Regions from separate parts of the Homo sapiens genome. Here all the other regions are linked to region 3. The links are contacts of gene promoters, found by promoter capture Hi-C in human tissues and cell types (Jung and others, 2019). All regions are on one chromosome and are shown on one strand. Each heading gives the region's core, a stretch centred on a gene start or on the middle of the fragment in contact. The rest is flanking DNA. Distances are from core to core; before and after follow the strand shown. Region 1 has its middle 17 kb from the start of ARMC12. Region 2 overlaps ZNF76 (zinc finger protein 76). Region 3 holds the start of TULP1 (TUB like protein 1). Region 4 overlaps PPARD (peroxisome proliferator activated receptor delta). Region 5 holds the start of FKBP5 (FKBP prolyl isomerase 5). Region 6 overlaps FKBP5 (FKBP prolyl isomerase 5).

Evidence for each region. The method cuts DNA at HindIII sites, captures the fragments that hold promoters and counts their contacts. A contact is called where the count stands out against the background at its distance.
Region 1: a contact is called between a fragment that was not itself captured here and the fragment with the promoter of TULP1 in region 3, in 2 of the 25 tissues and cell types used here (H1 embryonic stem cells and pancreas).
Region 2: a contact is called between a fragment that was not itself captured here and the fragment with the promoter of TULP1 in region 3, in 1 of the 25 tissues and cell types used here (dorsolateral prefrontal cortex).
Region 4: a contact is called between a fragment that was not itself captured here and the fragment with the promoter of TULP1 in region 3, in 1 of the 25 tissues and cell types used here (spleen).
Region 5: a contact is called between a fragment that was not itself captured here and the fragment with the promoter of TULP1 in region 3, in 1 of the 25 tissues and cell types used here (IMR-90 fibroblasts).
Region 6: a contact is called between a fragment that was not itself captured here and the fragment with the promoter of TULP1 in region 3, in 2 of the 25 tissues and cell types used here (dorsolateral prefrontal cortex and pancreas).

What each region holds. Positions count from the first base shown.
Region 1 is chr6:35,718,206-35,722,208 of GRCh38, reverse strand. It overlaps a transcript of FKBP5 not described here. Among named protein-coding and RNA genes, the nearest start is that of ARMC12, 17 kb to the left of the region's middle. RefSeq lists an enhancer at 1,467-1,706 and a silencer at 3,463-3,757. The HindIII fragment of the contact is 4,059 bases long and covers 607-4,003 here.
Region 2 is chr6:35,277,656-35,281,670 of GRCh38, reverse strand. ZNF76 (zinc finger protein 76) reads right to left here. Exons shown (of 14, transcript NM_003427.5): 2 at 447-615. The coding sequence starts at 519. Among named protein-coding and RNA genes, the nearest start is that of DEF6, 18 kb to the left of the region's middle. The HindIII fragment of the contact is 5,242 bases long and covers 34-4,015 here.
Region 3 is chr6:35,511,529-35,515,372 of GRCh38, reverse strand. It overlaps TULP1 (TUB like protein 1), which reads left to right and starts at 2,477. Exons shown (of 15, transcript NM_003322.6): 1 at 2,477-2,561; 2 at 2,683-2,734; 3 at 3,103-3,193; 4 at 3,567-3,725. The coding sequence starts at 2,515. The HindIII fragment of the contact is 7,738 bases long and covers 1-3,844 here.
Region 4 is chr6:35,366,814-35,370,447 of GRCh38, reverse strand. The region is part of intron 2 of PPARD (peroxisome proliferator activated receptor delta); the gene reads right to left. Among named protein-coding and RNA genes, the nearest start is that of PPARD, 26 kb to the right of the region's middle. RefSeq lists an enhancer at 1-88. The HindIII fragment of the contact is 4,387 bases long and covers 48-3,634 here.
Region 5 is chr6:35,688,830-35,692,909 of GRCh38, reverse strand. FKBP5 (FKBP prolyl isomerase 5) reads left to right here and starts at 3,995. Exons shown (of 11, transcript NM_004117.4): 1 at 3,995-4,080. RefSeq lists a silencer at 3,766-4,080. The HindIII fragment of the contact is 9,341 bases long and covers 1-4,080 here.
Region 6 is chr6:35,672,744-35,676,429 of GRCh38, reverse strand. All of the region lies in intron 1 of FKBP5 (FKBP prolyl isomerase 5), which reads left to right. Among named protein-coding and RNA genes, the nearest start is that of MIR5690, 9.8 kb to the right of the region's middle. The HindIII fragment of the contact is 6,359 bases long and covers 1-3,686 here.

The DNA.
Region 1 (4,003 bases), core at 1,387-3,886, 210 kb before region 3:
AGTTGGGAAGGGGACAGGCCATAAAAAAAAAACAGAACAAATAAGTAAGAAAATTTCAGATCACAATATGTGCAAAGAAGAAAATGAATAGGGATGCGATGGAGTGTGATGGGGGGTCTGCTGAGTACTCAGGGAAGGCTGCTATGAGGAAGGTTATATTTGAGCTGAGACCTGGATGACAAGAATAAACTAGTCACGTTAACATCTGGAGGCTGAGGGTTTCAGGCACAGGGAACAGCACAGCACATGCAAAGTCCTCAAGGCAAGAAAGAGCTTTGTGTTTTCCAGGTTTAGAAAAAAGGCTGAGTTCAAATCCACTACTCTCCAGTAATCCTCTGCAAGGATTATTACACCCATTTTGTAGAGATGGAAACTGAGGCTTGGTCAGGAAGGTTAGTTTCTTGGTCAAAATCACAACTGGGAGTACGCATTTTGGCTGTAAAGCCACTATTGTCGGCTGGGCATGGTGGCTCATGCCTGTAATCCCAGCACTTTGGGAGGCCGAGGCGGGCAGATCACCTGAGGTCAGGAGTTCAAGACCAGCCTGACCAACATGGAGAAATCCCGTCTCTACTAAAAATACAAATTAGCCGGGCGTGGTAGCGCATGGCTGTGGTCCCAGCTGCTCGGGAGGCTGAGGCAGGAGAATCATTTGAACCCGGGAGGCGGAGGTTGTGGTGAGCCGAAAGCATGCCATTGCACTCCAGCCTGGGCAATAAGAGGGAAACTCCATCTAAAAAAAAAAGCCACTATTTTGGGGTGTGTGTATATGTGTGTTTTTTAAATAAAAAAATCAAGTTCAGCAACCATGTGTCCTAAATTATCTAGAATGGTCAAATTTCTAAAATTCTTTTTTTTTTTGGAGACAGAGTCTCGCTCTGTGGCTGTGAGTGCAGTGGCATGATCCCAGCTCACTGCAACCTCCACCTCTCGAGTTCAAGCAATTTTCCTGCCTCGGCCTCCCAAGTAGCTGAGATTACAGGCGCCTGCCACCATGCCTGGCTAATTTTTGTATTTTTAGTAGAGACGGGGTTTCACCATGTTGGCCAGCGTGGTCTCAAACTCCTGACCTCAGGTGATCCACCCGCCTCAGCCTCCCAAAATGCTGGGATTACAGGTGTGAGCCACCGTGCCCGGCCCTAAAATTCTTATTGTCTTCTGGACAGTCATCTTGGACATGCTCTGTGTTCCATATCATGACTTCAAGCCTTGCCTTTTTCATGTACTACCAGTGGGATCCTAGACTAGCACTTTACCACTTTAAGCCTCAGTTTCCTAATTTGTAAATAAGGAGTAATTGTAATCATTCCAATATCACAGGCTTGCTGGGAGGATTAAATGAGATCATCCACATCAGGGTCAGCACAGTGCCCGGAATGGGGTACCTGTGAAATTAATGGTGATTCTTCTTTATTGTTACCTTGGAAAATGGAGGCCAACTGCAGGATGATCGTGGCTCCAAGGAGCTGGGGACCCAAGACATGCACAGAGAAAGAGAGACCAACAATGTGAGGCCTCTGATGCATGAGACAGGCAGGGGAGTAGTGGGAGGAGAGAGCAAGAGTGAGCAGCCAGGAGGGCCTCTTCCCTTCCCTTTACTCAGCCTGTCACTCCTCTGCTAGGATCCTGCATTGACACATCTTGTACTTCCTGTTTCCAGGGAAATTCCTCGCTGCCGGACTGCGCCCACCCTTGAGGACCTCACATTCTCTTTGGGCAGAGCGGAAGCCAGACAGAGACAGGGACTACGAAGCGACAATCCCCAGCCCTGTGTGTGCAAGGAGCCCCCGAGGGGCAGGCAGCCACGCTGCAGAAGGCTAGACTCTCCGACCCCCAGGGAGCCTGGTGTGGGCTGCAGGGACAGAACGCTTCTCAGAGGAGGTAGGGACCCCATGGAGTACGTGACGCCTGGCCCTCCAGCTGCATGCTCCAGTTATCAGGACAGAGACCCCTCCCCACCCATTCCCAGGCTTCCCTGGCTCCCTGCTCTGCTGCTGGGAGGCCCTGTCACCACACATGCGCGTGCACGCACTAACATACACACACCCCTCTCAGGCACCCCCGGAAGACCAGCTGCAGCTGGGGGTGGGGGTGCACGGAGCACAGCCAGGGTTCTCAGATCCCTAGCCTGCTCTCCCACCCCGCCCTAGCCCCCAACTGCCGAGCTGCTTCTAGTTTTAAAGCAAAACATGACTCTGTCCTTCCTGCTGCTCAGTGGCAGCAACACTGCCTGGGGTTATTTTTAGCAGGGATGCAGGGAAGGCACAGTTCTCCTTGACTTTAACTAGGGACAACCCCCACCCCTCAGCCAAGACTCACTGGAGGAGGCCGGGTACGGAAACCCCCCTCCCAGAAAGGGGAAATGGTGTGTTTTCTGTTCCTTCAATTCACTAGAATGGGAGTTGCAGTCAAGCTTGGGGTTGAACTGATGGGAAATTCTAGGTTCCAAAGCCTGTGGGCTCTGCCCCATCCCTGGTCTCTGTGTTTCCATGAATCCGGGAAGCAAGAGGCACATGGTGTCTGGAGTCGAGGTGCCCTGTCTGTGGGTGTTGGTGTCCCTGGGAAACTGCTTGGTTATAGCCAGGCTCTGTGGACTACACAGGGGCACCAGGCATTGTGGGTGGTGTTTCACAGGCGCTGGCTAAATAATTCATTAAACTGAGCATGTCCGTTCCGTGTATTTTTCTGTATGTGTATCTTTTAGATGCTAGCAGTACTTTATGAGGTATAATGTACATACATTCCACATCCAGTAAAATGCACAGATCTTAAGTGTACAGCCTGATGAATTTTGACAAATATATCTGCCCATGTAACCATCACCTAGATCAAGATTTCAGACATTTTCACCACCTCCAAATTCCTTCGTGCCCCCTTCCAGTCAGTCTCTACCGCAGAGGCAACTGATTCTGATTTCTATCACCATAGATCATGTGTGTGTTTTACAAAGTTAAAAGAAATACAGCTGCTGTCATAGAAGAGGGAAATGAGCAATAAAGTTCTTAACATGAAAGGGAGGCCTCAAAAAAGGGGTTACTGGAACTGGAAAAAATGAAGGTATCATTGGCTGGGAAACAGGAGGTTTCAGACCCAGCCCAACCCCTCAGGGTTGGGACCAGAGGGCTTGGGACACTTCTTGGAGCAGAGAGGCTGTGAGTTGGGAGGGGGCAAGGGGAGGGCCAGCTGTGGCTCAGGCCCAGCTGCCTCCTGTTCTGCTAGAGGTCCCTGCCCCTCCTCCAGGCCCTCCCCACTGCACAGTTTCAGCAAGGCCAAGGCTGCAAGGAAAGGTTCTCTCAGGGGCATCTACCCAGAGGCAGAGTTTAGGGCCCCTGTGTAGTTAGATTATTTGTTTTTCTTGCCTTCCTCTTCAAGGTTTGGAACTCCTGTATCCTTTGTCCTGCCTGGGGAGGGGAGAGGCTGAGGCTGTCAAAGTAGAGTGCTAAGGAAGAGTCATGATGCTTTTCATTCTTTCCTTCCTTTCTTCATTCAAAAACAGTTATTTGAGCACCTGTGTTGTGCTGTAGATTCTGCTAGGTGCTGAGGATAGGAGAATAACTAAGCCACATTTTAGCTTGCTATGGAGTCCGAATTGGGATTCCCAGGTGAGGCCGGGCCTTATACCTCCTTTGTATTGGAGATGAGGGGCCCAAAGAGGGGAAGTGACTTATTCAGAATCACACAGCTAGCTGCTGGCAGAGGAAGGCAAAGAACAGGGATCCCTGATTCAGCCCTAGATGGGGATAAGAAAGCAAAGGAAACCAAACCAACAGCCGATTCCCCGGTGTTCCCTCCTGCAAGCTTTTTAGGGTGACAAAAATCACTGACCTGGAGTAAGAGGACCTCATTTCTACTGCTAGGTCTTAGAAACACTTCCTCTCTCTGGGCCTCAGCTTTCTTCCATGAACATGCGGGAGGCAGCTTGCAGAGGACCTCTGGCTCTCGCGAGCACACCCTGCATTTTCCCGCCTCTGTGCCTTTGCTCGAGTTGTTTCTGCCGCCTGGA
Region 2 (4,015 bases), core at 1,405-3,904, 230 kb after region 3:
CATGAGCCACTATGCCTGGCTTAAAAGAGCATCTTGTACATGGCAGATGCTTAGTAGTTTGAATGTTTGAATATACTTGAATTAAGATGATAAACTGCTTCTAGAAAGCACTAAAAAACTGTGACAGGGGATATCTGAAAAGCAGGGAGTCATAACTAACACTGTGTTCATTCCAGAAATATTTATCAACTGCTTATTACATATTAGGAATTCTGTCTTTGAGAGGTATTGGTTCCTATGACTGGGATTGTCTGACTTGTAGCATTTTATTTTAGAGTTCCCTTTTCATCAAGCACCACAGGAGATTCTAATGCAGAGCAAATTGTGGTGGTGGGCAAGGGTAAGCAGGCGGGAGGGCAAGGTGATGGTGGGACTCTTAGAAATGGACACTCCTTTCCAGAGGCTGAGGGACAGGGCAGGATCCTGAGGTCCCCAGAAATACTTACCTTTGACAGCTTGCTGGACGTAGGCTGTTGTCCCATCACTAAGGGTCACCGTGTGCAGCCCCAAGCTCTCCATGGCAAACTGCTGCTCGTGCACTCAGACATGAAGTTGGCTTCTGGCCAGCACCAAGAGCCACAGCTGAGGTCAGAGATTTCCTTCTGGGTCACAAATCTAAGAAAATAAACAGTATCACATTATGAGTTAACCAGCTTTCTCCTATCGCAAAGACACTCAGGGAAGGAGTTAATGAGGCCAGCCAGCCAAGAAGAAAAAAGATGAATTCTTCAAAGTAGTGAACTATATTGGTTTTTATGAAAAGGGCTCAAAATACACATTATCTAAGAATTCTAAAAGTTAAGCATAGAAGAGAAGCATGCCAATCAAACTGGTCATAAAGTAAGAAATCACTGATCAAAACCCATTTCTAAACTTTCTCCCCTTAGGAAGGAGCCCTGCTGAAGGCAGGCAGTTAACCCCACTGCTGATGGTTCTCTCTGCCTACTCCAACATCTCTCCTGTGCTCGGACCCATTTATCTACTGAGCTTGTTAACCATCCTCAGGGAACATCCCACATGTACCACACGTGGAATAAGTCCTCAACAGAACTCACAATGTGTCCCAACCTTCCAGAACTATTGTACTTCCAGTATCCCCTATCCCAGGGGTGGTATCGCCTTCCACCCAGAACTTCAGGGCGGGGGGGGGGGGGATCATGCTTGAGTCCTCCTTTTCCCTTAAAAGTCCAGGTACTTATTTCAGGCATGTCTCACCTTTCACCTCTGGACAACTATAAGGAGCCTTATAACTTATGTCCTCAGATAAACTTTTGTCTGTTTCCAATTCATTTTCTTTTCTTTCCTTTTTTAGAGACAAAGTATCACTCTGTCGCCCAGCTGGAGTGCAGTGGCTCCATCACAGTTCACTGTAACCTCGAACTCCTGGGCTCAAGTGATCTTCCTGCCTCAGCCTCTTCCAACTCATGTTCTAACATTCATGTTTATGCTGTCAGGGTGAATTTAAAAAAAAAGCTCTCTTCCCACTATCTTGGAGCCTGTAGAGGCCTGCTGAGAACAGGACTTCCAAAAGGCAAATATGGGCGGGGTGTAGTGGCTCATGCCTGTAATCCCAGTGCTTTGGGAGGCTGAGGCAGGAGGATTATTTGAGGCTAGGAGTTCAAGACCAATGTGGGCAACACAGCAAGACATTGTCTCTACAAAAAAAAAAAAATTAGCCAGGTGTAGTGGCACATGCCTGCAATCCTAGCTACACAAGAGGCTGAGGTGGGAGCACTGCCTGACCCCAGGAATTTGAAACTGCAGTAAGCTTTGATCATACCACTGAATTCCAGCCTGGGTGATAAAGAGACTCTGTCTCAAAAATAATAATAAGATAAATACAATACATTTGGAAGGCTGTAGTCCAAGGCCATTTTTTGCTAGCTGTAAGTGGGGCCTCCAGAACCAAAGCGAGGACACAGCTCTTATTAAAATTGAGGTATTGGCCAAGTGCGGTGGCTCACGACTGTAATCCCAGCACTTTGGGAGGCCGAGGACAGTGGATCACGAGGTCAGGAGATTGAGACCATCCTGGCTAACATGGTGAAAACCCATCTCTACTAAAAATACAAAAAATTAGCCGGGCGTGGTGGTGGGCACCTGTAGTCCCAGCTACTTGGGAGGCTGAGGCAGGAGAATGGCATGAACCTGGGAGGTGGAGCTTGCAATGAGCCAAGATCGCGCCACTGCACTCCAGCCTGGGCGACAGAGCGAGACTCCGTCCCAAAAAAAAAAAAAAAAAAAAAAAAAAATTGAAGGTATTTATGCTCGAAATGAAACTAATTCTATTTAGGCAAGAGATGTACTTACATGTATAAAGCAAAGAACAACACACTGACTGCTGGCAGCAAACTGAAGAAAACCAGCATAATCTGGGGAAAGGTAAACTCAGGCCCATGGAAACAGTGGCATGGTTTGTGCTAAATTCCCAAGCAATCTTGCTAAAGCTATTGAACACAGAATCTGTGTGACGCTGTGCCCCTCAAGGACTTAAGCTAATGAAAAGTAAATAAATAAAAGTAGATTTATAAGAAAAAAAGAGTACAAATCTAAACATACCACTTCCTTGACTAAAACCCTTCCATAGTTTCCTACAGCTCTTAGAGTCCACCTTGCATACAAGGCTGGGTTGTTATAAACTCCCACAGCCTAGGTACCACCTTTTCCTAGCACTCACACCTCTGGGCTCAACCTACTTCAGTACTCATCACTATCTGTTTAATGTCCGTTGCCTACACAAGGCTTTGGGCTCTAGCCTGGTTTCTGCGTCACAGTGGTTTCTCCAGCAACTCACACTGTGGGCTCTCCACACATCCTGTGAGTGACTCCCTGGGTCCCTCATGTGCAAGGTGGGAAGCACTGAAGCTTCCTGCTGGCAGGATATCTTCTGTACCCACTGTGGTGTGCAGCCTGCTCTAGCAGTGGACCCCAACACTTGTGAAGCCTGCAGGAAGCCCACGGCCTCTAAACTCAGTGCAGTCGTGAAGACTCTCTTTGACATCCATTCTCAAAATTCTCCTGGACTTGGAATCTGGACTGCCTACTGGATTCTCACGACTTACCAACCGATATCTTTGACTGGTGCTACCCAAACTGTTTTCATGTCAGGGGACCTAGAGAGACAGATATTTGTACATTGCATTGCAGATGCTGCTGCTTAAAGTCAGAAGTTCACATTGCAGATGTCACTGCTTCAAGCCAGAAGCGACCAACTGGGGCTTTGACAGCCCTGAGGGGCGAGCGGATCAATATCTTGGCAAAATTATAGACCATCCAGGAGTTCGAGACCAGCCTGACTAACATGGAGAAGCCCCGTCTCTACTAAAAATACAAAATTAGCTGGGCATGGTGGCACATGCCTGTAATCCCAGCTACTTGGGAGGCTGAGGCAGGAGAATTGCTTGAACCTGGGAGGCAGAGGTTGCGGTGAGCCGAGATCGTGTCATTGCACTCCAGCCTGGGCAACAACAGCGAAACTCCGTCTCAAAAAAAAAGAAAAAAACAAAACAAAAACTGGCTGGGCGTGGTGGCTCACACCTGTAATCCCAGCACTTTGAGAAGTTGAGGCGGGCAGATCACAAGGTCAGGAGATCCAGACCATCCTGACTAACAGGGTGAAACCCTGTCTCTACTAAAAATACAAAAAATTAGCCGGGCGTGGAGGGCGCCTGTAGTTCCAGCTACTCGGGAGGCTAAGGCAGAAGAATGGCATAAACCTGGGAGGCGGAGCTTGCAGTGAGCCAAGACTGCACCACTGCACTCCAGCCTGGGCGACAGAGTGAGACTCCGTCTCAAAAACAAACAAACGAAAAACCCAAAAAAACCTATAGACCAACTGCGACACGCTGATTGGAATGCTCTACCCCAGGCATGGCATCTCAACTAGAATTATTCATTCATTCTGTCCATAAACATTTACTAAATGGGCTAAGGTGCAAGGGCAGCAATACTATTATATAGTGAACACTACTATAGAGTTAACCACGTGCTAGGAATGTCACATACATTAACTCAT
Region 3 (3,844 bases), core at 1,228-3,727:
GGCATGGTAGCTCATGCCTGTAATCCCAGCACTTTGTGAGGCCAAGGCAGGCGGACCACTTGAGGTCAGGAGTTTGAGATCAGCCTGGCCAACATGGTGAAACCCCTTGTCTACTAAAAATACAAAACATAGCCAGGTGCCTGTAATCCCACCTACTCAGGAGGCTGAGACAGGAGAATTGCTTGACCCTGGGAGGCAGAGGTTGCAGTGAGCTGAGATCGTGCCATTGCACTCCAGCCTGAGTGACAGAACAAGACTCCATCTCAAAAAACAAAACAAAACAAAACGAAACCTTCCTTCCTCAGGCAGCCTTGCCTGTACTCTAAATCCAGACTGGAACCCACCTGCTGGTCTCGTGGAGCCCAGTTCCTTTCCTTCTTGGCATTTCTCACAACTAATAATAATGAGATCATTATCACTAATTTGGGTATTTATGTCTCTACTATCTGTCTCTCTCACAAGCATGTAAGCTGCACGAGGGCGGGGACCACATCATGTTGTTCATCTCTGTATGACCATTATTTAGCATAGCGCTTGGCACACAATAGGTGCTCAGGAAATACTTGTTGACTGACACTCAGCTGTCAGTTTCCTCACCTTTAATATCAGGGTGTTTTCGTTTGGTTGTTTGGTTGTTTGGTTTTGTTTTTGAGACAGGGTCTCACTCCATTGCCCAGGCTGGAGTGCTGTGGCACTGTCTTAGCTCACTGCAGCCTCTGCCTCCTGGGCTCAAGTCATCCTCCTGCCTCAGCCTCCCAAGTAGCTGGGACCTCAGGCATGTACCACATTGCTCAGCTAATTTTTAAATTTTTTGTAGAGACAAAGTCTCACTATGTTGCTCAGCCTGGTCTTGAGCTCCTGGGCTCAAGTGATCCTCCCAAAGTGCTGGGATTACAGGCATAAGCCACTGCTCCTTGCCCTAATATCAGGGTGTTAATGTCTGTCTCATAAATATTATTGTGAGGGTGGAGTCAGAATGGGAGCAAGCCACAGTAGGTGGACAATAAATGCTATTATTATTATATGGTCAGAGCCAACTGAGGACTGAGGCCTCTCCGAAGTGGCGACTTGAGGACTGTTTAGAGTTGGATAGGTTTCATGGAATAGGGAGGGCGTTCCGGGAGGGAACAGCCTGAGCAAAGGCATGGAGGACAGAACTGTAAAGGCAGTAAGGAAACCTCTGTGGCTGGATGAAGAGTATGGCTTGGGATAACCCTGTGGTTAGAAAGGCAGACTGGGGCCAGATCAGGGAGAGCCTTGAATGTCAACCCAACACATTTAAACTTAATCCTTAGGCAGTAGGGAGCCAATGAATGTTTTTGAACAAAGGTGGCAACCGAAGAAATAGTATTTTAGAAAGTTCCATTTGATATGGATTTACTGTAATTAGCCAGGATCGTGCCACTGCACTCCAGCCTGGGTGACAAGAGCAAAATTCTGTCTAAAACAAAACAAAACAATACCACAAAAGCATGTCCCCTATCAGTGAAAAAAGAAAAAGAGTTAAGGGTATACCTCCAATACAGACATATTCTTTTTTTTTTTTTTTTTTCTGAGATGTAGTCTTGCTCTTTTTGGCCAGGCTGGAGTGCATTGGCAAGATCTCGGCTCACTGCAACCTCCGCCTCCCAGGTTCAAGTGCTTCTCCTGCCTCAGCCTCCCCAGTAGCTGGGACTACAGGTGCCCACCACGATGCCCAGCTAATTTTTTATTTATTTATTTATTTATTTTGAGACGGAGTCTCACTCTGTTGCCCAGGCAGGAGTGCAGTGGCATGATTTCCGCTCACTGCAAGCTCCGCCTCCCAGGTACACGCCATTCTCCTGCCTCAGCCTCCTGAGTAGCTGGGACTACAGGTGCCTGCCGCCATGCCCGGCTAATTTTTGCATTTTTAGTAGAGATGAGGTTTCACCATGTTAGCCAGGATAGTCTCGATCTCCTGACCTTGTGATCCGTCTGCCTCGGCCTCCCAAAGTGCTGGGATTACAGGGGTGAGCCACCGCACCCGGCTAATTTTTGAATTTTTAGTAGAGACTGGGTTTCACTGTGCCGGCCAGGCTGGCCTCGAACTCCTGACCTCAAATGATCCACCTGTCTCAGCCTCCCAAAGTGCTGGGATTACAGGTGTAAACCACCGCACCTGGCTCTAGTTCTTATTTTTTGTGAGAAATAAAGATAAATACAGGATCCAGTCTAATGTTTTCTTCCACATCCCATTGACAAATGACTAATCGGCCCCTCTCACCCCAAGCTTCTGGGGGCTTCTCGGGGCAGGTGGAGCTGGTGGCCATCCTGCAGGCTGCTGGGGATCTGAGAAGAACTGGAGTTGAGATTCTTCCCCCAGTGGCCTGGGCCTAGCAGGGGAGGGTCGTGGGCTGTAGCACCTCCCACAGCGCGGCCAGGCCTCCACTCCTTGAGCAGGGGGAAGGGGGGTGAAGTTGAGCCGAGATTAGCAGGAGTCGGGAGGGAGGCTCCTAGACCTGCAGAGAAAGGGGTGCGATAGGCAAAGGCACCATGCCTCTGCGGGATGAAACCCTCCGAGAGGTGTGGGCCTCTGACAGGTCTGGAAGGCCCCCAGTTCGTGGCACCTGAACCCTGGGGGGCCTAGATGGAGGGATGGGGAGTGGGTGGGATGGGGAGGGAAGGGGAAGGGAGACAGGCTGATCCCTTTGCTACCCTCAGTGGGCATGAAGAAGAAAGCCTGAGCCCGGAGGCCCCGCGGCGCCCCAAACAGGTATGCCACCCCACTTGGAAAGGAAGCAGAAAGATGTCCCCGCTGTGCGTAAACCCACGCAGGGTAGGGGGTCTAGGGGTGGGACAGGTCCCCCTTAGCAGGGTCTGGGGGTTGCATGTCTGGAGATCTGGGGGGAGAAAGGGCTGTTTGGGGACTTGGGGTTTCCAGGGAAGGAATAGGGACTTTGGAGCATTGGATATGGCCACGATGCATGGAAGGGGTCATCCTGCCTCACTCCAAGAAGGGGGCTGCAGTTCCCCCCGGATAATCTGCGGTTATTTCTGGCGGCTCAAGGGATTAGAGGGGGATGGGCGGGCCTCAGCGCCCCCCTTTCCTTCCTCGACCTCCTCTTGACCCCCGTTCCGCAGCGACCCGCCCCGGCACAGAGGCTAAGGAAGAAGAGGACGGAGGCCCCCGAATCCCCCTGCCCCACGGGATCCAAGCCCCGGAAGCCCGGAGGTGGGCGGGGTGCAGAGCCCGGGTGGACCCCCAGGGTGTGGGCTGCGGAAGGGAGGGGCTTGAGGGCCGGCGCGGGTGTCGCCGAGCCCTGGAACGGGGTGGGGGAGGAGGGGGCGGGGAGTGATGAGAGGGGAGGGATTGGGGTTGGGGTTGGGGTTGGGGTTGGTGTAGAAGGGGGTGGCGTTGGGGTAGAAGGGGGTGGGAAGCTGAATGGAAGCCGGGGAGAAGTGTTGAAAGTGGAAACCCAAGCCCAGGGGAGATCCCTAGGGTGAGGAGCCCGAGGGGGTGCGCCCAGGCTTGGGGGTAGCGGGTAGAGGCGCTGCCTCGCGGACCCGCGGATGGGACCCTGTCTGAACCCCGCATCTCGGCTCAGCTGGGCGGACGGGGAGGCCGCGGGAGGAGCCTTCCCCAGACCCAGCCCAGGCCCGGGCGCCGCAGACGGTCTACGCCAGGTTCCTCAGGGACCCCGAGGCCAAGAAGCGCGACCCCCGGGAAACCTTTCTGGTAGCCCGTGCCCCAGACGCGGAGGACGGTGAGAGAGGGCCCCAGGGACGCGGGTGAGGGGGCGGTGGAGCTAAGGAGAGAAGGGGCTGGCTGGACGGGAACGGCCCAGAGAGGCAGAAAACAACTGTAGTCAAATAGCCCCCACTT
Region 4 (3,634 bases), core at 992-3,491, 140 kb after region 3:
TCTCTCCTGACGACTTCAAAAGGCACTCCAATCAGCAGCCATAACCAGTATCTTCTTACACATACTTTATCCACCCAACTCTACTCACTCCCCAACATGCCTGCACACAATAGAGGAAGTGGCCAGACAACACGATGCAGCCTTTCTAAGGGCAACAGGAAACGATACAATACCACGGAGCCACAATGAGGACCCGGGCAGCTAGAGCTCCCACACACCACCATCTTTCCCAACAGCCAGACCCTTCCTGGCCCACAGACAGGGTCAGGACACAGACAGCATCAATTCCCAAACTAACTGGTTGACAGGTCAGAGAATATCATCATTCAAAAGATCACAGGACTTCCTGTACAAATTAACCCAGATTCAAAGGAACAGGGAGTCAGGTACCCTTATACTGCAGTGAGAGGGTAAATTAGTACAACTTTCTAGAATTTGGCAATATGGCAACATTTATTAATATCCTTACATTTTGATTCATTCAAAATTTGCACATATACACACATACACATCCTTTAAAAACTGAATACCTACCAAGTGCCAGGAACTATGCCAAGTAGTAGGGGAGACAGAGAAGGTGACTGTTCTCAAAGAGCTTTTGTTCTAGTCACAGATTCGGACAATTAACCAATAAATCAACAAAATAATTTCTGAGTGCAGAGAGCACTGGCTATAAGAGCAAAAGATGAGAAATAACCTAAACGTCTGTTGGCAGGACTGATTAAATAAGATTAGATATTCTCATAAGAATGAATACCGCTCTGCTATTAAAAGTGCATTCTTGAAAACTATATTCAAATTGCTAGGATATAAATGTTTAAAGCAGGTTTCAAAACAGTACCATGATTATGTCCAGTGACAGAAGCCAATCACAAAAGATCACATATTGTATGATCCCATTTATATGAAATGTCCAGAACAGGTAAATCTGTACGTAGAGAAAGCAGATGAGTGGTAGTCTTGGGCTGGAGTAAGGGCGGGATGGGGCATCGAGGCGGGAATGCACGCTAATGGATTATAAGATGTCTTTTTGGGACTAAGAAAATGTTCTAAAACTAGATTGTGGTGATGGTTGTACAACTCTGTAAATACTAAAAACCATCAAATTGCACACTGTCAACAGGTGGACTTTATGACTTACATCTCAACAAAACTGCTAAAAAGTAACATTCAATATGACTTCAATATGGTTTTCAAAAAGAGGGGGTGTGAAGGGTCATGAGGGGAAGGATGAATAGCCATTCAAAACATTAACCGTGGAAATTCTCTGAGAGGAAAGTTCTAGGTAATTTTATGGTCTTCCTTATATTTATCTTTATTTTCCAAATATTCTAAAATATAGAAGTTTATTTAACTGGCAAACCAAATTATCCAGGGTTTTAAAATCTACTTTTCCAAGTGTACCTTAAGTATGTCCAAGGCACAAGACTAGAAAGGTCCAACTGCTGTGCTAACCTAGGTATCTCTAGGGTTGTCATATTCTTCACACCAAAGATACCAACCAGACAGCCAAGCAAAGGAATTTCATATTTCAAATAAATCAGACCAAGTAGCTCCTGGTTAGGGAGTGTCTGCTGACTGCTGGAAGAGCTTGCTACTCTCTGCAAACACTTTCAAAGAAAAACACCCAGAGGCCACCATAAAGCTCAGATACTATCAAAGCATGCAAAACAACATCAAAGATTTGAGCAGATTCAAATAGAAACTTCCTGGACACTTTCAGGAGTCACTTCCTGGTTGTGAAGTGTGAGGCCCTCTGGACAAATCATTCTCTCCCATGTGGCCTCCTCTGATCAGTGACTTCAAAGGCATCTTTCTGAAATGACTGGGCTGAGGGAGGGTGCCAGCCTCTGGAAGTCATTGGTTTCCCAACCAGGCTGTACTCCCAAATCAATGGGGAGCTTTAAAGGCAGGTTCCTGGACGCCATCCCTGGGAATTCTAATTCAATAGGCATGAGGAAGGCCCAGGAATCTACATTTTCCCCAAAACTCCCTGGTGAATATGCCAGTTGAGTCAAGTATGGGACTCACTGGGCTGGATACCATCTGGGATAACTCAAAATAGGGCTAGCCTCCACATCTGGCTACAATGCAGCAGGAATCCCACCCAGTGAGCACTGTGCATCAAAAGGCCACTAAGCGCAGAAAGGGAAACTCCACAGGGAAATTCCATGCATGTCTGGCTATCACTGCTGAAGCTTGGGGGAAGCTAGCAAATCCCTAGAGCAAACCTATTTTGGAAGGTTCCCTAAGACACAGTGATCTTGGATGCTCATCTGTGAAAAGGGGGATGACTAGTACAACTTCCACTGTGGGAGACCACAAGAAAAATCAGCCCTCTCCAACCACACAAAAGAGCCAGCAAGCTTTGCAACTCCCAAGGAACCAGAAGCAGAAAGGGATGCAGTATGGCATGACAGACTGTGAGTCTGAGTCACACAGATCTGGGTTCAAATCCAGGTATCCACTACCGGCTGTCTGTGGATTAAATATGGCTACAAACCTTTTGCCACTCTTTCCATCAAGAGGTGGCGTCTAGTTCCCAACCTGGAATCTGGGCTGGCCCAGTGACAGCTCTGACCAATAGAACATGATTGAGGTGATGTTCTGGGACGTGAGCCCAGGCCTCAACACGACTGGCTTCCACTGTCTTGGCCCCCAGATGCCATGCTGCAAGAAGTTCAGGATAGACTCTTGAAGGATTAGAGGCCATGCAAAGAGAAGCTGCCTTGGACATTACAGTGCAGCTAAACACAGACAAATGGGCAAGCTTGGCCGACATCATGTGGGGCAGAACCAAGCATCTGGACCCAATTCACACAATCAAGAGAAAGGATAAATGGTGGTTGTTTTAAACTACTGAGTTTCACAGGTGATTTGTTACACAGCAGTAGGTAACTGAAACACTGTTTCTCCTTGAGCAAATGGATTTTTCTGAGCCTTAGTTTCCTCATCAATCAGATAGGGAATGATGATAACCTGAATAGGGTTGTGTGAGTTTCAACAGAAGTGAACGGGCTGTGAAAGTCTGAAGCGCAGGCCAGTGCCAGTTACCATCACTATCTGCGCAAACCCAATGTTCAAACCACCACCACACCACCATATCCTTTTTCCACATTTAGAGTCTTTTTGGGCCAAGGGTACCTCTTCATACACAAAGCACAGGAACTATTTATACTCGCCCTATAATTGGGAAGGACCCTGCCAACAAATGCCCCATGTTCCCAAATCACTCACCTTCTCCCATCACATCAGTGTTCCCTCCGGCCTCTCTTCTTCCTGTTACAGTGTTATCTTTGCCCCAGCCATCCAGGTTCAAAGAATCAACCTCTTACACTCCTCCATTTCCTTTTAGCATCCAGGGAACGGACAAAACCTCACCTCCCCAGTCACCCCCACCTTTCCACTTCCAGTGCCATCAAGGCACGGTCATCAAAGCCAGGCAGGTCTGAGTGCTGCTCTGCAACTTACTACCTTTATGACCATACGCAAGTCATAAGTCTGGCCATACGCAAGACCATATGCATATTAATCAGTAATACCTTCTTTTTGTGGTCATTTCGAAGAAAGAATATGCAGCTAAAGTATTTAATACAGAGGCCGGATGCAGCGGCTCACGCCCATAATCCCAGCA
Region 5 (4,080 bases), core at 766-3,265, 180 kb before region 3:
ACATATAATGTCTGAGAATTGTTCAAAACTGAGGAAAAACTATTCAAAGGTGATAGGCAGCCGTGAAATGACAGATATCCACTCTACCGTGTATTCTCTTCTTTTTTTTTTTTTTTTTTGAGACAGAGTCTCACTCTGTCACCCAGGCTGGAGTGCAGTGGTGCAATCTTGGCTCACTGCAACTTCCACCGTCTGGGTTCAGGCAATTCTCATGCCTCAGCCTCCCAAGTAGCAGGGACTACAGGCGCACGCCCAGCTAATTTTTGTATTTTTAGTAGAGACAGGGTTTCACCATGTTGGCCAGGCTGGTCTCGAACTCCTGACCTCAGGTGATCCGCCCACCTCAGCCTCCCAAAGTGCTGGGATTATAGGCATGAACCACCACGCCTGGCATACTCTGACTCTCAAAAACCTTAATGTACAAAGCTGCCTTTAAAAGGATTCTGAAACCAAGATGAAGGTAGCTCGGTAGTAGTTGGAACAGGGCTTGCCTGGGCTGAGTTCAAGTACAAGCTCTGCTACTTCCTAGCTGTGCCACCTGGAGAAAGTTGCCAAACTTCAATTTTTTCAAGTAATAAATGAAAATAAAGAGTAACACTGGCCTACCCCATTGTGAGAATCAAATGATAAGTTCGGGCAAGGTGGCTCACACCTGCAATCTTGACAGTTTAGGAGGCCAAGGTGGGAGGGTCTCTTGAGCCCAGCGGTTCCAGGCCAGCCTGGGTAATAGAGTGAGCCCTTGTCTCTAAAAGAAAAAGGAAGACAGAAAAAGAGAATCAAATGATAAAATGCATGTGAATGAGTCTAGTGAATGCGAAGTGCTTTTAAAATGAGATGTGGTTTGAGCAGTTCCACAAGCATGCCCAGGGTCACTACCAGTGACAGGCAGGACTGGCCATATAATTTGCAGGGCCCAGTGAAAAATGAGAGTGCAGGGCCCTTTGTTGAGAAAGTACTAAGAATTTCAAGACGGCGGCAGCAGAGCATTAGACCCAGCACAGGGCTCTTCTAAGTACACGGCCCTGTGTACTACACAGGTCACATACCCATGGAACTGGTCTTAGGTACAGACCCTGCAAAGAACCGTACTGTGCCTTAGGAAAGGGCTGCTCATCCCACATCCAGGTATCTGCAGCCATAGCGCATGTCATCTTTGAATTCTGAAGGGCAGTAATGTTTAGGGAAAATGCAAGCACATGTGTTTCCAAATGCCAAGGAAGGCAAGTGCAGTGATCAGAGTGGTTTTCTGGGAGAGTGGGTGGGGCTAGCAAGGCTGCCATCGGAACTGTGGAACTGACTGTTCTCCACAGACTCTGGCCTAGAAAAAAAAAGAACCGTGTAGCTGTATCTACAGGGCCTGTTGTTGTTGCTGCGGTGTATTACAACACAGCCTGGCAGCCTCCCCTGCCTTTCTGTCTTCCTCCTGGAAGAGCCTGGTCCCAGACATGTGACACGTCCACACAGCCCTCTGCAGATTTGCCCACACTGCTCCTCACTGTTCCCTCAATTATTAGGCTTTTCCAGGTCTGCATGCTTTTTGCTCACGCTGTCCCCTCCTGCCTGGGAGTCCCTTTCCCCCTTGTCCACACCCCTCTGTCTGGCAAACACCTACTTCATCTTCTAAGATTCAGCTCTACTGTCAGGTGACCTCTTCAATGACGCCTTCCCTGCCTCTCGTAGGAAGAGCTGATTCCTCTTTCCTTGGCGCCTTCCATTGTGCCCTATGCAGACATCTGTCACAACCCCTGTAACATGAAGAGGAGAACTGACATGTTACGTGTATGTCACTGTCTCCTAATGAAGCCCTTGAGGGTTGGGACATATATACCCTGATAGCATAGAGCTTAATATGTGCTGTTATTTTTATTTTATTTTATTTTATTTATTTATTATTATTTTTTTTGAGATGGAGTTTTGCTCTTGTTGCCCAGGCTGGAGTGCAATGGTGCCATCTCGGCTCACTGCAACCTCCGCCTCCCGGGTTCAAGCGATTCTTCTGCCTCAGCCTCCCGAGTAGCTGGGATTACAGGCATGCGTCACCATGCCTGGCTAATTTCGTATTTTTAGTAAAGATGGGGTTTCTCCATGTTGGTCAGGCTGGTCTCGAACTCCCGACCTCAGGTGATCCGCCCACCTCTGTCTTCCAAAGTGCTAGGATTACAGGTGTGAACCACTGTGCCCTGCCTAATATGTGCTATTATTAAGCATAGTAGATGCTTAATCAATTGGTATTAGTATGCAGAGGAATTTTGATCAACTTTGTTTTTCTGCGTTAATGAACAAATACATTGTTTCAGTGACTCCCCTCGGCAACTGGTAAACAGGGAAGCTTCTAGGCACTGAGGACAGACAAATGACTGAGACAGAACCCCTGCCCTCGAGGCGGTTTCAGTCTTGGCTTTATTTGTCTTTTCTGCAGACATCATCACCCTTTTTTTTTTTTTAGAATGGAGTCTCGCTCTTGTTGCCCAGGCTGGAGTGCAATGGTGCGATCTCGGCTCACTGCAACCTCTGTTCAAGCAATTCTCCTGCCTCAGCCTCCTGAATAGCTGGGATTACAGGCATGCGCCACCATGCCCGGCTAATTTTTTAAAATTATTTTTAGTAGAGACGGGGTTTCTCCATGTTGGTCAGGCTCGTCTCGAACTCCCGACCTCAGGTGATCCGCCCATCTCGGCCTCCCAAAGTGCTGGGATTACAGGCGTAAGCCACCGCGCCCGGCGCCCAGGCATCATCTCTTGAAGGCAGCATGGCGATTTCTGGACGAGGCTCTTCATAAATGTTTGAATGCAGTATAGTGCAAAGAGAGCAGGTTTGGAGCCAGGAGACATGAGTTCTAATCTGGCTATGGGATATTAGGTTTCCATAGGTAACTATTAGGTCCCACGTGTAACTAGCTATGGGACATCAGGTTTCTGTTTCCTTAAAAATGAGAGAGTTGATTAGAGATTCCCTAAGGCCCAGGTGCAGCTCCTGCATCTCTATGGGAGTAACTCAGAGGTAGCCATCTGGTTGGCAGTCTACCTTTCGGAGTTGGCGGAAGAACTCAGCCGTTTTGTTTTTGTTTTTGTTTTGAGATGGAGTCTTGCTCTGTCACCAGGCTGGAGTGCAGTGGCGTGATCTCGACTCACTACAACCTCTGCCTCCCAGGTTCAAGCGATTCTCCTACCTCAGCCTCCCGAGTAGCTGGGACGGCGCGCGCCACCAAGCCCAGCTAATTTTTGTATTTTTAGTAGAGACGGGGTTTCACCATGTTGGCTAGGATGGTCTCGATCTCTTGACCTCGTGGTCCGCCCACCTCGGCCTTCCAAAGTGCTGGGATTACAGGCGTGAGCCACCCCACCTGGCCGAACTCAGCCGTAAGGCCTCTTCCTGTTTTAATCTCCTGGGATCTCCTGCTTGAAAGGTAGCAAGCCAAGAGAAAGTATGGTCTTTACAGTCACTGGGTGTCCAGAGGGAGGTGATATCTGCTAAATTGGTTCTCGAGGTGGGATTTCCCCAGTCCCGACTGGGCATCTTAGACTTAATGGGGTTGCTTCCTAGGGCTAACCTGGCCAGCTGACCTAACAAACAGCCTGGCCTGCCCCTCTCCGGCCTCTAGGTAGGCCCTGTGGACAGATAGGAGGGGCAGTGCCTTCAGAGAGACGATACAGATGGGAAGTCAACTAGCTTGCTTAGGCATTAATTTCTCGGGAGGTAAGAGATGTGAGGGGGTGTCAGTTTCCACCATCCCTTCTCTATGGCCCCCACAAAGGGCAAGGGCCAGACACGTGGGCTGGCGTGGGGAGGTGGAGGAGCAAATGATGGGGGCGGGGCCTCATTTGCATGGACGGCGCGCGGCCACCAATCCGGACAGGCGGATCGACAGCCCGCGCGCCTTTTGGGGGCGGACTGACAGCCCCGGGGCCCTATGGAAGGCGGGTCCTGCGGCCGGCTGGGGCGGGACGGCGCCGGGCGCTGCCCCGGGGATTCGGGCCGGCTCGCGGGCGCTGCCAGTCTCGGGCGGCGGTGTCCGGCGCGCGGGCGGCCTGCTGGGCGGGCTGAAGGGTTAGCGGAGCACGGGCAAGGCGGAGAGTGACG
Region 6 (3,686 bases), core at 854-3,353, 160 kb before region 3:
TTTTAGGTAGTATCTTAAGGTCCCTCTGCAGTTCTGAAATTCTAAGATGAGTGGTTTCTCAGGAAAAAAAACTGATTTATATGCTGTTCCTAGTTAATGATTTTTCAGGGGCTGTTTCTCATACATACTTTTCTGTTTCCGATAGCGGTTAGGAGAAGAAATAATTAAAGGTGTCAGCGTTTCTAAAGTGGATTTAGATTTATTTATGTTTCTCCACTGAATTTATCCTGGACCCTTACTTTCACCTTCTATTAATATTTGTATCCACTCTCCTGCTTTTCTTGCCTTTTCTTTTTCTATTTGCTTTACACTATGACGTCAAATCCCTCTTTTTCTCTTCTTGCTGCTGCTTTTGTCCAGCTGTCCTTCATTACCCATATTTCATTATGACTGTGGAATTTATCAAATAGGCCCTTGAGTCTAAGCTATTACTGATTTAAATTCAGATGTCCCAATAGTTGTTAGGATTAATAGGACCCTTCTACTCTGTTATACAGCAACTGGAGAGAGGAGTCCTAGGGTTAGAGGGGGTGGGCAAGCCTGAGGGTAGAAGGAATGGTGTAGAAGAGAATTCCAAGGATTGTTTTGATTTTGCCCCTAAAATATAAGTTAAAATCCTAAGTTTCGATGATGATGACTTTTGCACTGATAAAAGTTTGATCCTGAAGTCATAATGGACTGTGAGAGTTTCTTGAAGGCAGAGCTGAACTTCTAATTCTGAATCCACAGCATTCAGTAATGCTGAAGTATTGCTGCTGCTAAGTGCAAGTTGAATTAAATTGTTAGGATTGATGCTTTCTTCCCTCAAGGTGTTTTGTGGTAGGCTGGGGATTAAGAGTATGGTATAGACTTGTTTTTTTGAGACGGAGTGTTTCTCTGTCACCCAGGCTGGAGTGCAGTGGCGTGATCTCGGCTCACTGCAACCTCTGTCTCCCAGGTTCAAGCGATTCTCTTGCCTCAGCCTCCTGAGTAGCTGGGATTACAGGCATGTGCCACCACGCCCAGCTAATGTTTGCATTTTTAGTAGAGACGGGGTTTCACCATGTTGGTCAGGCTGGTCTCAAACTCCTGACTTTGTGATCCACCCGCCTCGGCCTCCCAAAATGCTATATCTGTAGAATCCGTAGAATCCGGGATTACAGGCGTGAGCCACCACACCCAGCCTAGAGTATGGTATAGACTCGTGTAAGACTTCAGTGAATCTTATCACTACCACTTTGTGGTATGGGATAAGATACTTATTTTCTGTAAGTCTCAGTTTCCTCAACTATAACATGCGAGAGGGACAAAATGAGCACTTACCTCAAGGTTGTTGTGAGGATTAAATGAGACAATACATGTAAAGCACTTAGCTCAGCGCCTAGTATGTCTTCACTAAATATTAAATACTAGTGTAGTTTCATTAATAAGTACTGCTGTGTTCCAGATATTTATTAAGTTCTGCTAGGTTCTAAGTAGGGTTAACAAAATGAACAGGACATGATCCTGCTCTCAGAAAGGACAGAACATATGCACAAAAGATAATTAACAACCTAGATCCAATGGTAAGTGGCAAAGGAGTGGTTTACTTAAGGGCTCAAGAGGCTAAGCAAATGAGAACTTCAGGAAGGTGACAGAACTTGATCTCAGCTTTGAAGGACTAATTAGCAAGTTGACAGTCTCCTTGGAGCCAGACTGCTTGTGTTTGAATCCTAGTTCTGCTACTGTGTCATCTTAAGCAAGTGACGTGATCTCTCGCCTAGGATTGTTGAGAGAATTAAATGAGTTAATACATGTAAAACACTTAGAATGGTTCCGCAAACATTGTTAGAGCTTGATAAATTATTATTAATAAGTTGAGAGAAGGGAGAATGCATTTCAGATAGAACATTGAGTGATAATGAAGGGGAGATACTCTAGGTTTGTTTGAAGTGATGAAGCCAAATTGGTTAGAGGGATAGCTTGTTGGAAATTAGTGGATGAATATGTCGGGGCACAGTTATGAATAGGTAAGCCAAGAAGTGTGACATCTTTTCCATATGTACTGAGGGAACTTGGAAAGACTCTTGGGTTACTTGTCAACTCTTATGTGTTACAGATAATTTCTAAGTCTGTATCTCCAGCATTTCTACCTTCCTTGATTTCAAAATAACTGAAACTTCTATTCAAGCTAATTTTGATAGTAAAGCTCATAATCTTCTAAACTGGGCCATTATGCTTCTTTATTTGCTCATTTATTTTTGTAAATGTTTTTGGCTTTCTCTTTTTCTCTGTATTCTAGTTGTTTACATAATCCTCACTCCTTTTCTCCAAAGTTTAGTGGGTTTCTGCTAGTGTTTCCTCTCTGTCCTCAAAACCCCAGTCTAGATCCTAAATCATCAAGCCATAAGGTGGAAAGGACCAGAGAGAGGGAGAAAGGGAAGAAGGAAGGGAACCATCCTCTAGTCCAGCCATCTTGTTTTACAGATGAGGAAATTGAGGTTCAGAGGAAGTAGAGGCATATGCTCAAGATCCACAGCTACCGAATGAGCAGGGCTGCCCCTTTCAGGACTAGATGAAGGCTGTTTTATACTCTCATCTCAGTGTGATTCTCAGCTATCTGGGTGGGAATTATAGTAGTACAATAAATAAATTTTCTGTTATTACTATTAAGCACCAAGACAAAAAATAGTTTTATTACCAGGAACTATATGATAATAATTCAACCTTATTAATAAGCCCATGATTGTATTTCTCAGATGAGCCTCACTATTCTTAATACTTAAAACCAAGTCTCCAAAATCTGCTTTGAGAAGAGGGTTTCTTGCTTTCATTTTTAGAGTTGTAAATTATAAATATAATAGTATTATAAACATAAATAGTATTCTCAAAAGAATGGACTTTTTGTTTCTGTTTTCTTCTTTTTTTTTCTTTTGAGACAGGGTCTTGCTCTGTTGCCCAGGCTGGAGTGCAGTGGCACTCTCAAAGCTCCTTCCCAGGCTCAAGCGTTCTTCCCACCTCAGCCTCCCAAGTAGTTGGGACTAAAGGTGCACACCACCGCACCTGGCTAATTTTTAAATTTTCTGTAGAGATGGGGTCTCACTCTGTTGCCTAGGCTGGTCTTGAACTCCTGGCCTCAAGTGATCTGCCTGCCCTGGCCTCCCAAAGTGCTGGGATTACAGGCAGGAGCCACGGCACCCAGCCAATCTCTTAGATTTTAATATATGCCACACACAACACATAATGGTATGTTATGTATTCAAGCATTTTCTTCTACATTGTTTTTCTACCTAGATGTAATGTGATAGAAGGTATAAAGCCCTAAGCTTAGCGTCTGGCCATACCAGTTGCTCAATAAATATTCTCTTCCCTTTTTACAGGGCTGGTAATTTTTTCTCTTATATAATGTTAATTCCCAATCACCAATTCACTATCACATCACTTCCTTTTCTTCCCTGGAAACGTATGTTTAAATACATTTGCCCTCTCTGCATTTTGAACATTTGCATAATGTACAAGTACTTTTTTTCTTTTTTTTTTTTGAGACGGAGTCTCTCTCTGTTGCCCAGGCTGGAGTGCAGTGGCGCGATCTCGGCTCACTGCAAGCTCCGCCTCTCAGGTTCACGCCATTCTCCTGCCTCAGCCCCCCGACTAGCTTGGGCTACAGGCGCCTGCCACTACGCCAGCTAATTTTTTGTATTTTTTTTTTTAGTAGAGACAAGTTTTCA